Linked DNA regions of Homo sapiens: region 2 is linked to region 1. Evidence: promoter capture Hi-C in 16 types of primary human blood cells and fetal thymus (Javierre and others, 2016). All regions are on one chromosome and are shown on one strand. The core of a region is centred on a gene start or on the middle of the fragment in contact, and the rest is flanking DNA. Distances in the headings are between cores, read along the strand shown. Region 1 holds the start of ENOX1 (ecto-NOX disulfide-thiol exchanger 1). Region 2 overlaps TNFSF11 (TNF superfamily member 11).

What was found. Contacts are between HindIII fragments. The CHiCAGO score rates a contact against its expected background, and 5 or more counts as called.
Region 2: a contact is called between a fragment that was not itself captured here and the fragment with the promoter of ENOX1 in region 1, in 1 of 17 cell types (naive B cells). The highest score is 5.6, in naive B cells.

What each region holds. Positions count from the first base shown.
Region 1 is chr13:43,785,287-43,790,194 of GRCh38, forward strand. ENOX1 (ecto-NOX disulfide-thiol exchanger 1) reads right to left here and starts at 1,686. Exons shown (of 17, transcript NM_001347969.2): 1 at 1,366-1,686. The HindIII fragment of the contact is 7,995 bases long and covers 1-3,942 here.
Region 2 is chr13:42,587,723-42,592,228 of GRCh38, forward strand. All of the region lies in intron 2 of TNFSF11 (TNF superfamily member 11), which reads left to right. Among named protein-coding and RNA genes, the nearest start is that of TNFSF11, 16 kb to the left of the region's middle. The HindIII fragment of the contact is 3,469 bases long and covers 1-3,082 here.

The sequences.
Region 1 (4,908 bases), core at 436-2,935:
CCTCTCGAGCGGGCCCACCAGCTCAGCTTTCCAAGCTCGCTCACCTGCGTCTCTCCTCCAGGAATCAATTTCCTTCCCACTTTCTCCACCCTCTTCAGATCCCTTAAGCACGCTTCATTGCTTTCTCCAAACTACCAGACTCAAATCTGCAGCCCAGTTGGCCAGGAACCTTTCCATACGCACGTATTTCCTGCATTCTCCTGGGTCTGCTTTTAAAAATTGCTACCACCAAACAAATGCAATCTTAACAAAATTGGGATTACAAAGCCAGTTTTTTTCATGTAATGTTACAGCAGTGAAAGATTGAGGGAGAGAAAAGGAGAGAAGCAGGAGTGTATCTGGGTGAAGAAGCGTGGCTCAGTGGCTATACAGTGAGACGCAGAGATTCCACAGAGCTGGGCTTGCCCACCTGTCGACCCCACTTTCCCCATGTGCTCGCCGCGGGATGACAACCACAACACTCCAGAACCACCCCCCTTCCGAAAGAGGGCGGGGTTACGCCTTCAGCCAATCAGGACCCGCGAGCCCCGGGTGTCCAACCTATGGGGTGGCTGTGGCCGTGCAGGGGGAGGACGTGGGGTGGTCTGGGAGGGGCCGCGTCCGTGGGAGGCTCGCACGTGTCGGGTCCGGAGAGGCGGGGAGGCGGCCGGCGTCCAGCGGCCGAGGCGCGGGCTCTGCACCCTGGCAGCGGCCGAGTCCGGCTGCCCCAGTGCCTCCTTTACCTCGCGTTGGGCCAGGCAGGGCGCGCTCCCGCCGACGAAGACCTGTCCAAGGTGTCCGAGCTCCCCGCGAGAGGGGACAGTCACGAATAACAACAGTACCCAGCGCAGACTAGGCGGGGAGGAAAGTTTCCGGCCCGCAGCAGAGCGGAGTCCGCCAAGGCTGGAGGAAAAGGGATGCAGAGCGGGAGGGTGAAAACCTGAAAGAAGAGGGCAGCGGGAACACTGTGTGGGCAGGAACGGGTCCCGGGGGCGACGCCCGCAGGGGGAGACGGGTGCGGGGTGCGCTGTCCAAGGTGCAGGGGAGGTGACTGGCGCGCGGCGGGCGCGGAGCCCGGAGCTGACACTGGCTGGCGGGCGGAGGGGAGAGCGGGGAACAGCTGTCTGGGGCGCTGGGCACCCCCGGGCGCGTAAAAGTGAGGGAGCTTGAGACGGGGCACGGCGGGGAAGGGCGTGGGGGCTGCACCGAAGCCCCCACGCGTCCACGCACCCCTCCTCACCAGCCTCACCTCTAGCTCCACTCCCCTCCCCCCTCGCCCACTCCCCTCTCAGTCTAGATCCAGGTGCCGTGGCGGGGGTGAGACCAGAGGACCCCGGCTCGGAGCCCGGACGCCCCAGGGAGGCTGCGGGCCCCGGAGCTGCTTACCTGGGGCCGCCGTATGGGGAGCGGAGGCAACCCGCTGCGCGGAGTGGGGCGCCGGGCGCGGCGCGGCTCCTCCTAGCCTCGGCGTCCTCCTCCTCCTTTGCTTCTCCCGGACTCTGTCCCGGGCACGGAGCTGGGAGACGCGGCCGGGCTGCAGTCGCCGTTCCCTCTGCTGCCGCCGCCGCTGCAGCAGACAGAGGACGCCCCGTGGCGGCTGGAAGCCTGTGTGAGTAGCGGCGCCCGGGAGAGCGGGGATCTGCTGAGGGGCGCTGGAGACTCCGCGGCTGGAGGCGCGCGGGCGTGCGCACGCGCGCCTGCGAGTGTGAGTGTATGGGTGCGCGCGCGCCCACGGGGTGGGGGAGTCGCGAGGGGAGGGGGAGAGAGGCCGAGAGATGCTCGTAGGGACCGAGGCAAAATTCTACGACCCCGGAAATCCGTAAACGCGGGGAAGGAGGATCGAACGCGTGTCTCGCTTGGAGAAGCTGCCCACGGGGCGGCAGCAGAGGAGGAGGGGAAGTCAGCGAGGCGCGCTAGGGCTCCGGATCCCAGCCCGGCAGAGCCGAGCGGAGCGCGCAGCCACCGATGCAGCAGAGGCGGCGCCCGCAGCCCACGGTCGCGCTGCCCCCTCTCGGGAGGGGCCGAGGCCGCTCGCTCCCGCCACCGCCGCCGCGGTCGGGACTGCTCTACTGGGAGCGGGGGAACCGAGAGAGGGACCGCACGGTTGCTACGGCGACCTTGGAGGGGCCGGGCCCGCTGAAGGGCCAAGAGAAGAACCCGGGCGCACGTGGCCGACTCCAGGCTGGAGCGGGCGTGTTACAGGATTGTGGGCTTGGGGTAGACGGTGGAATTGGGCCGCGTGGCCTGGGCAGATGATGCGGGGTGTGCGGCCCAGAGTGGCTCGGCCGGGGTGCGGTCAGCATTCAGGTTGGTAAGGGTGAGGGGATCCTAACCCCAGGTGACATGTTGCCTTTTTTTCCTCCTTGGAGGCTACTTTTTCTCAAAGTTACCCACTTCCCAGGTAAGAATGCCGGCCTCCTCTTTGTTAGGATTCAACTTAGCTGTGCAGGCATCTAAGCAGTGCCTCCTTAGAGTCAGGCTCGTCCAAGAACCGCTCCCACCACCTCCCCACACACACCCACATCCCCCGATCCTCCATCCCAACTACATTGTAATACTTCAGAAATAAATGTTTAAAGCACATTTACATTCTCTGCCTCTTAACAGATATATTGTCTTAGTAGTATACTTTTCCTTGCTTATTTTAAATTCTGAGTGGGATTTTATTCACACAAGCATTTCTTCAAGGGTCGTAAGGTCTGGGTAATACTTGAAATACCCTTTCTGGCAGGAATCCTCAATGCAGGGATTGTGTTTTGCACACTTTTGCATGCCTTCCAGTGCTTAGCATAGTACTCTGTACTTTGTGAGTTCCCTGTAAATGTTGAATGAATGACATTGTTTTCTAGCTTCACGTAACCTGAAGGCAAAGACTTGGATGCTGGGAAAGTCATTACCACCCCACTAGGCTTGCCTGATTTTAACTTATGCCATTTCCTTGTGTGTGGCTATTTTTCCCCCTGGCGGTCAGAACCCCAATGCAAAGAAAGAAAATAATACTTATCCATTGTGCACCCTTAACAAAGGATGCATGTAGAAGCACTCTGCAGGGACCCCAGTGGGATGCCCTGGGTGTGAGGGGGCCAAAGCTCAGAACCTAACCTCTCAAAATGTGAAAGTCAGTGTTCACCAGCAGTTTATACTGTCCCTTCTAGAGCAGAAGGATGGGGAAAACAGTTTTAAGAGAAATACACTTTTGTTTTTTGTTTTTTGAGACGGAACCTCGCTCTGTCACCCAGGCTGGAGTGCAGTGGCGCGATCTCGGCTCACTGCAACCTCTGCCTCCCGGGTTCAAGCGAATTCTCCTGCCTCAGCCTCCTAGTAGCTAGGATTACAGGCGCCGGCCACCACGCTCGGCTAATTTTTTTTTTTTTTTTTTTTTTTTTTTTTTTTTAGTTTTTAGTTTTTAGTAGAGACACAGTTTCACCATGTTTTCCAGACTGGTCTCCAACTCCTGACCTCAAGTGATCCGCCTGCCTCGGCCTCCCAAAGTGCTGGGATTACAGGCATGAGCCACCGCTCCAGGCCAGAAATACACATTTCTAATAGCTTATCAGGTACGCATTTTTCTCCTGTAAAGAGTAGTGTTCATGGACACTGACCAATACATGCAGGGTCACCCCAGACTGCTAATTCTGCTGTCTGGTGTAGCACCAAGTCCACATCCTTCGACCTCGGTATTTCTACAATCATCGTCTTAGAAGCAGAAGTCTTCAATTTTGCATTTCATGCTAAATTTCAATTCCTTTGAACTCAGGCCCGCCTATGAGCTGCTTCTCTCTCCACTCATGATACCACAGCTGTGAAATATAACTGAAATAAAGTGAAAATTAAAATGGATTTATTTGGGTACCGTGTGTTCTTTAGTGGGGGTCCCTTTAACTGATTTATCTACCTTCACTCAATTGACAATCTTCTTAGAAGACATTTGTTGTGATATTGGAGCTTTTTTATTAGGTTGAAAGCTTACTTAAATTTCTCACTTGAAAGGAAGCTCTAAAACTTGCAAAAGAAGCAGAAAAACTCTGATACCGAAAATGGACCCTTGACAGCCAACCTATAGAATGGGTATGAGTCAGAATTTTCCAAAACAATTTTAAAGCTTCATTTTCCTTAGAAAGTTGCTTTTAGGGTTTTGTTGGGCTCAGAAACTAATACCGGAAAATATGGCACTTTGACATGCTGGACTGAAGAAGCAGCCTCAAAGTCTCTCTGACCCTCTCTCTGCCTCCTGTCTCTCAGTCGTCTGTCTCACCCAAAGCACAGGATGAAATTGTTCTCTGAAGGTCTTTCATCTGCCTAGAAACCAGATCTGCCAAAGAAGAACGCACTTGCCTTCCCTGAGTTTTTATTAATCTAACTCACGTCGTAGGAAGAAAGATTGAAGCCTGTCAACACAACTGGACATACTTTTGTCACACTCCTCTGCGGGCCCAACAGACTTTATCCCAGGCCATTTTATGTTCACCAAGCTCATTGAATTCCACTAAAAATTCTTTACTATCCCCCTTAAAATCATCCACATTTCCCTTTCTATTCTTCCCCTATGAAGAAGGGTATATGAGCATCTGTGTACCCCACTGGGTTATTGGGCAATCATTCTCCTGCAATTCCCTTGGATTATGCACATGAAAATAAGTTTTGTATGTCTTTTCTCCTATTAATCTGCTTTTTGCGAGGTGATTTTCAGTGAACCTTCAGAAGGTTGAAATCCCTAGTTTCAACAGCTTCCCAAGTGCTTGTCTTACTTGGTGGGTGGGAGGAATGTTAATAAAGCTGTAACTTCTCTGATGACCACCAAAGGGGACAGTCTTGTCTTCGTAAAAACAAATATAAGAAGCCAGCACCTAAGAATGTAGGCATATCACAAGCTTAATGTATGTTAACTTAAAAATAATGTATGTTAACTTAAATAAGTTAATGTATGTT
Region 2 (4,506 bases), core at 98-2,597, 1.2 Mb before region 1:
AAAACTAGAAAGTTCACCAGATTAAGTGATTGTGTTTTCTACATATGGGAAACAGATCCCCTTGGATTGCAATCTCCATTATTATAAGGAGCTCATTCCTATTTTTGAACTAATGTAAATAAGAAATCAATGAAATTTAAATAGATTGTAACTGCTTGTGAAACTGTAATCATTGAAGTTGTTATATGCCACTATTTCTCATTTGCCTATTAGTTAAAAAAAGGAGAGGAGGGATTAAACCCCATTCATTGCCTCTTTCCCTTTGTATACAAGAGTATGTGTCCGAAGAAAGTTTCTCATAAACCCACAAGGGTACTTGGTTTTTGGAGCACTCATGTTCCCAAGTCACGATGTTAGTCATGTAGTGGTTTTCCAATAGGATTTCATCTCTGTTTGCCATAATAGTTTTGGAAACTGCAATTCAACCCCAATCACATTTAGCGTTTATAAAAGCTGTCTTTATGGGAAAGCTGAAGTAAGACCCACAGAGTTTTCCTACAAAACCAAGGCCATCTATTGGCTTTAGCTCAACAATAAGTTATTGGCTTGTACTCAATTTCAGGGGAGACCCAGGGAAGAAGGTAGGAAGCAGGAGGGTTTGCAAGAGGAAAATAACCGGTGAGTTATGTCAGAGGTGGGCTTTTCTTTGTGTTACAAGTACCCCAGGATGGAAGAAAAGATATTCTGCATGACATCTTTAAAGAAACAGAGAGCTGGAAGGACATGCTTGAAAGAGGAGCCTTCATTATGTGGCCTGGGATCTTGGGCTAACCTTCCAGAAGTGGATGAAACTGAGGGTCCTTGGTTGGAGAGCATGACAGCAAGGGATAGATTGGATTGTTCTACCAGCAGCGGCAGGAGAGGTACAGCCTGTGTAATTGAAGAGCGGGATGTGCCTTAGAGCAGTGTTTCCAAACCTCCTGGATCTTAAGACTCAGTTGGGGCCCTTGTTTTAAAAAGAGAAGAGAAAAGTCCTCCAGATCTATCAGTGGGGACTCTGATTTGGCAGTTCAGGGGTGGACTCTGTGATTTCTTCAAAGCATCCTAGGAAGAGGTGAGAGCCACTGGTGGACAGGGAAGCCATGGTGAATGAAGTGACTATATTTGAGAAGGAGTGTGAAGCCTGTGTGGTATGAAAGAGGTGGGTCCCGGAAATTGTCAAGAGCTGTCTGTTTCTGAGATGACCAGACAACAAATGCTTGCTCAAACTTTTGGAAGTTCAGGGTGTTGGGGAGTTCCATTCTCACTTAGCTTCTGCATCACTAGGCTGCTACTCCTGTCCTCAGTCTTTGCCCTTCAAGAACACTAGGTAGCGGCGGCGGTGGTGGTGGTGGTACCAGTAAAAATAATCATCATAATGATAAACCCTAAGGCTCATATTCATCAAAAAGTTTGAAAGCACTCAGAACTCTTCTCTTCAGTGCCTGTGGCTGCTTCTCATTTGATCTAGTTTTTCATGGTGAATGACAATACCATTATCTCCACCACCCCAAACTGGAAGTCAGAAGATGGTCTTATCCTTTTATTCACCCACTCTTCACCTCTCCCCCATCCTGTGAATTCTACCGCCTTACAAAACCTTCAAGTATTGTCTCTACTCTGCTCACTGTGTGGTCACATGAACAGAGGTCATCATCCTCTCTTGCCTGCATCCTTGCATCTGGCCACCCCCTCCTGGCCTCACTGCCACTGGCCCATCCTTCCCATAGCTGAGGGACTTCGAAAATGCACATCTGAACAGGTCATTTCTTTTCCTGCTTAAAGCATCCTTCAGTAGATCGCTGTGGTTGTCAGGATGAAGTCTGAGCTGCTGAACATGTAACAAAAAGTCCTCTGTATTCTGGAAAGCCTCGTTCCAGCCCCTGCCTCTTCAGGCTTGTTACCTTGAATGCTCCATGTCATCGCCTCCATCGCAACTTGTACTCCACGGCCTCACCACAGTATGGTGCTGAACTCTCCCGACCTGGCCATACCCTTTCGCCTCTCTGCCTCTCTGCAGTAATCAGCAAGTGCAGAGAGGGCAAAGGGCATGTCTGTCCTGCGAACAGTGTCCTCAGAAACCCACAGGACTCCTGACTCCTAGCCTCCATCGGTAAACTTTGTTGAATGGATGAATGGATGAATGGATGAATGAATGATGAGTCTTTGTGCATAGTCCTTTGTATGCCACTCCATGCCCTTCTTTGTGTAGTCGGTTTTCTAATTGTCTTTTAAAATCCAACTCAGGCATTACTTCCTGGAGGAGGAGCCCACAGATGCCCGCCCACCCACCTGTGGGGGTAGGTGCCCCTCCTGGGCCCACACGGGGCTTCTTGTAACAGCAGTAACCACACGGACCTGGGGTGAACTGGCTCACTTGAATGTGAGCTTCCCAAGGACAGGGTCTGTGGGATGTTTCCTTTCTACATTTCCAGCCCCAGTGGCAAGCACATAGTTGGTGCTCAGTGAAAGTTTAAAGAACAAGTTTAATGAATATGTGAGTGACCTGTGCCCTATGTGTGCACACTTGGTGTGCTCAGGTGGCGAGTTGTTTAATATTGCCAGAAGCTAGCCAGCCATGTGATCAATCCATAGGATTCTTAAGGGGCTGGAGGTCACTCGCAAGCTCAGTGTTTTCCTGCTTCTTTGAGAGGAGAGCTCTTTTCCTCTTTGGAGCGTGAACACGTTAGGGACCTTGGGGTTGGGGGTGCTCCTTCACTGGTAGCCTTGGCCCTTTTCTTCCTGGCCTCATGGATCTAAAGCAGCTGGCCTGGTATCTCTGACCCCCTTTGCGTCTCATTCTTAGGGAGAAGTCTGTGAGAGCAAAGTCTTTTCCAGAAGAGATGAGGATTTGTCAATGTAGAAAGCACTGCCAATGGAAGGTGGCATTATTTTTCAAGTGGCAGAGGAAAACAGAGACATGGTAAATAGCACAATTAGCCCAAGATGCCACACTGCAGTTACTCTGCCAAACTTTTAGATGACACTTTTTAAACCAGTAGTATAGTATAAGACATTTGAAAATCGGGCTCTTTATGAAGACTAACATTGCTGTCATAAGACTACTTTATGAAAACCCAAGGGGACCTTTATCTGTAGCAGAAGCTTTCTCATTTAAACCATGAAGGTTAAACAATAAAAACTAATTTTCTATTCCCAGCATACCCATCGCACTCCCAGGAAAAGCATCAGTCTGCTTTATGAAAACAAGGACATGCTATTCTTTAGCTCTTTGGTAGGTAGAGGACATGAACTGTTTGCAAAAACGAGTCTCTTCCAATTAGCAGACTTCTTTTGGAAGAAATGATCCACCAGTGACTGTATTTGGGGTTTGGGGAGGAGGCCAACTCACATCTTGGTAAAGTTTTTCACTGAGAATTTTCACTGATGGGCATGGGATGGTGGCCGCTGATTCAGTAGGAGCTGGAGCAATTAGGAGGCTGAGTGCAGTGGTAGTGGTGGTGCGGAGTGTGTAGAATTCATGTTGACAAGAGTTTGGCTTTGGGAGAATTTGATTAGTCAGTACTTTTATATTAAAAATAAAGAATTATAGGGATCAGAATGTTAAGTTACAAATTTAAGGTGAGGATGGCTTTTACCTTCGGGATGAGTGGGGTCTATACCCTACCTACCTTCGCTCCTCCTATCTGCCTGCTGGGCCACTGGACCCCTTGCCCACCTCATGATTTTTCCCCTCTCCTCTGGGGAGGGTGAGGACCTGCCCTCTCACCTCCCCCAGTGCTCCTGTCCTCTCCCTTCCTGGTGTCTTATAGGGCTCTGCTCTACGGAACCTAGGCTGAGAAGGGCAATCCACCATGATCTTTTATAACATGTATTCAGGCAACAGAGAACTCAATGAATCCTGCTCTTAAAGTTCTTTGCTTTGGGTGTTTTTGCACTATGGGCTCTTCATAAGGAACCAGGGGTCACCAGCTCCATCCAGGTGCATATATGTGTTCCCCCACATCCTGTGGATTGCAAGGTCAGTGTGAGCTTTAGGGGAGGGAGGAAAGCGAGAGGCTGGGGCAGCGATACTAAAGCCTATCTCATTAGCTATTGCACAACACCCAGTGGCCACTCTTTCTGTGCCTTGTTAGCCAAGAATGCCGTGGAAATAAGAGCGTTGCAATTAAGGATGAGCTATTGATGAAACACTGGCTAAGGCAGCTTTCCAAGGGAGCAGTGTGTGCAAAAGTCTGCATGTACAGGAGGGCAGAGTTCTTGCAGGTGGAACTAAGAGTAATTTCATGAGGCTGGAACCTATGGCATCCCAGAGCCTCCTTCCAGGTGATGAGGTTTGGGAGTACAGGGGAAGAATATTAGGGGATTTCGGAGTGGTAACCAGACTAAGTGAAAAACTAATGTTTTTCTCTGTACTCTCATAACCTGTCTGACACCAAATATGTGGCGTTTGCCCTCACACAAAGCAGTTCTCCAACTCTTCAGGCACTAATTGGATGTTCTGCAATTCAATTATGATACTAACTATTGGGAGGTAACACAGCCCCAACAGGTTAAAGGCTCAGC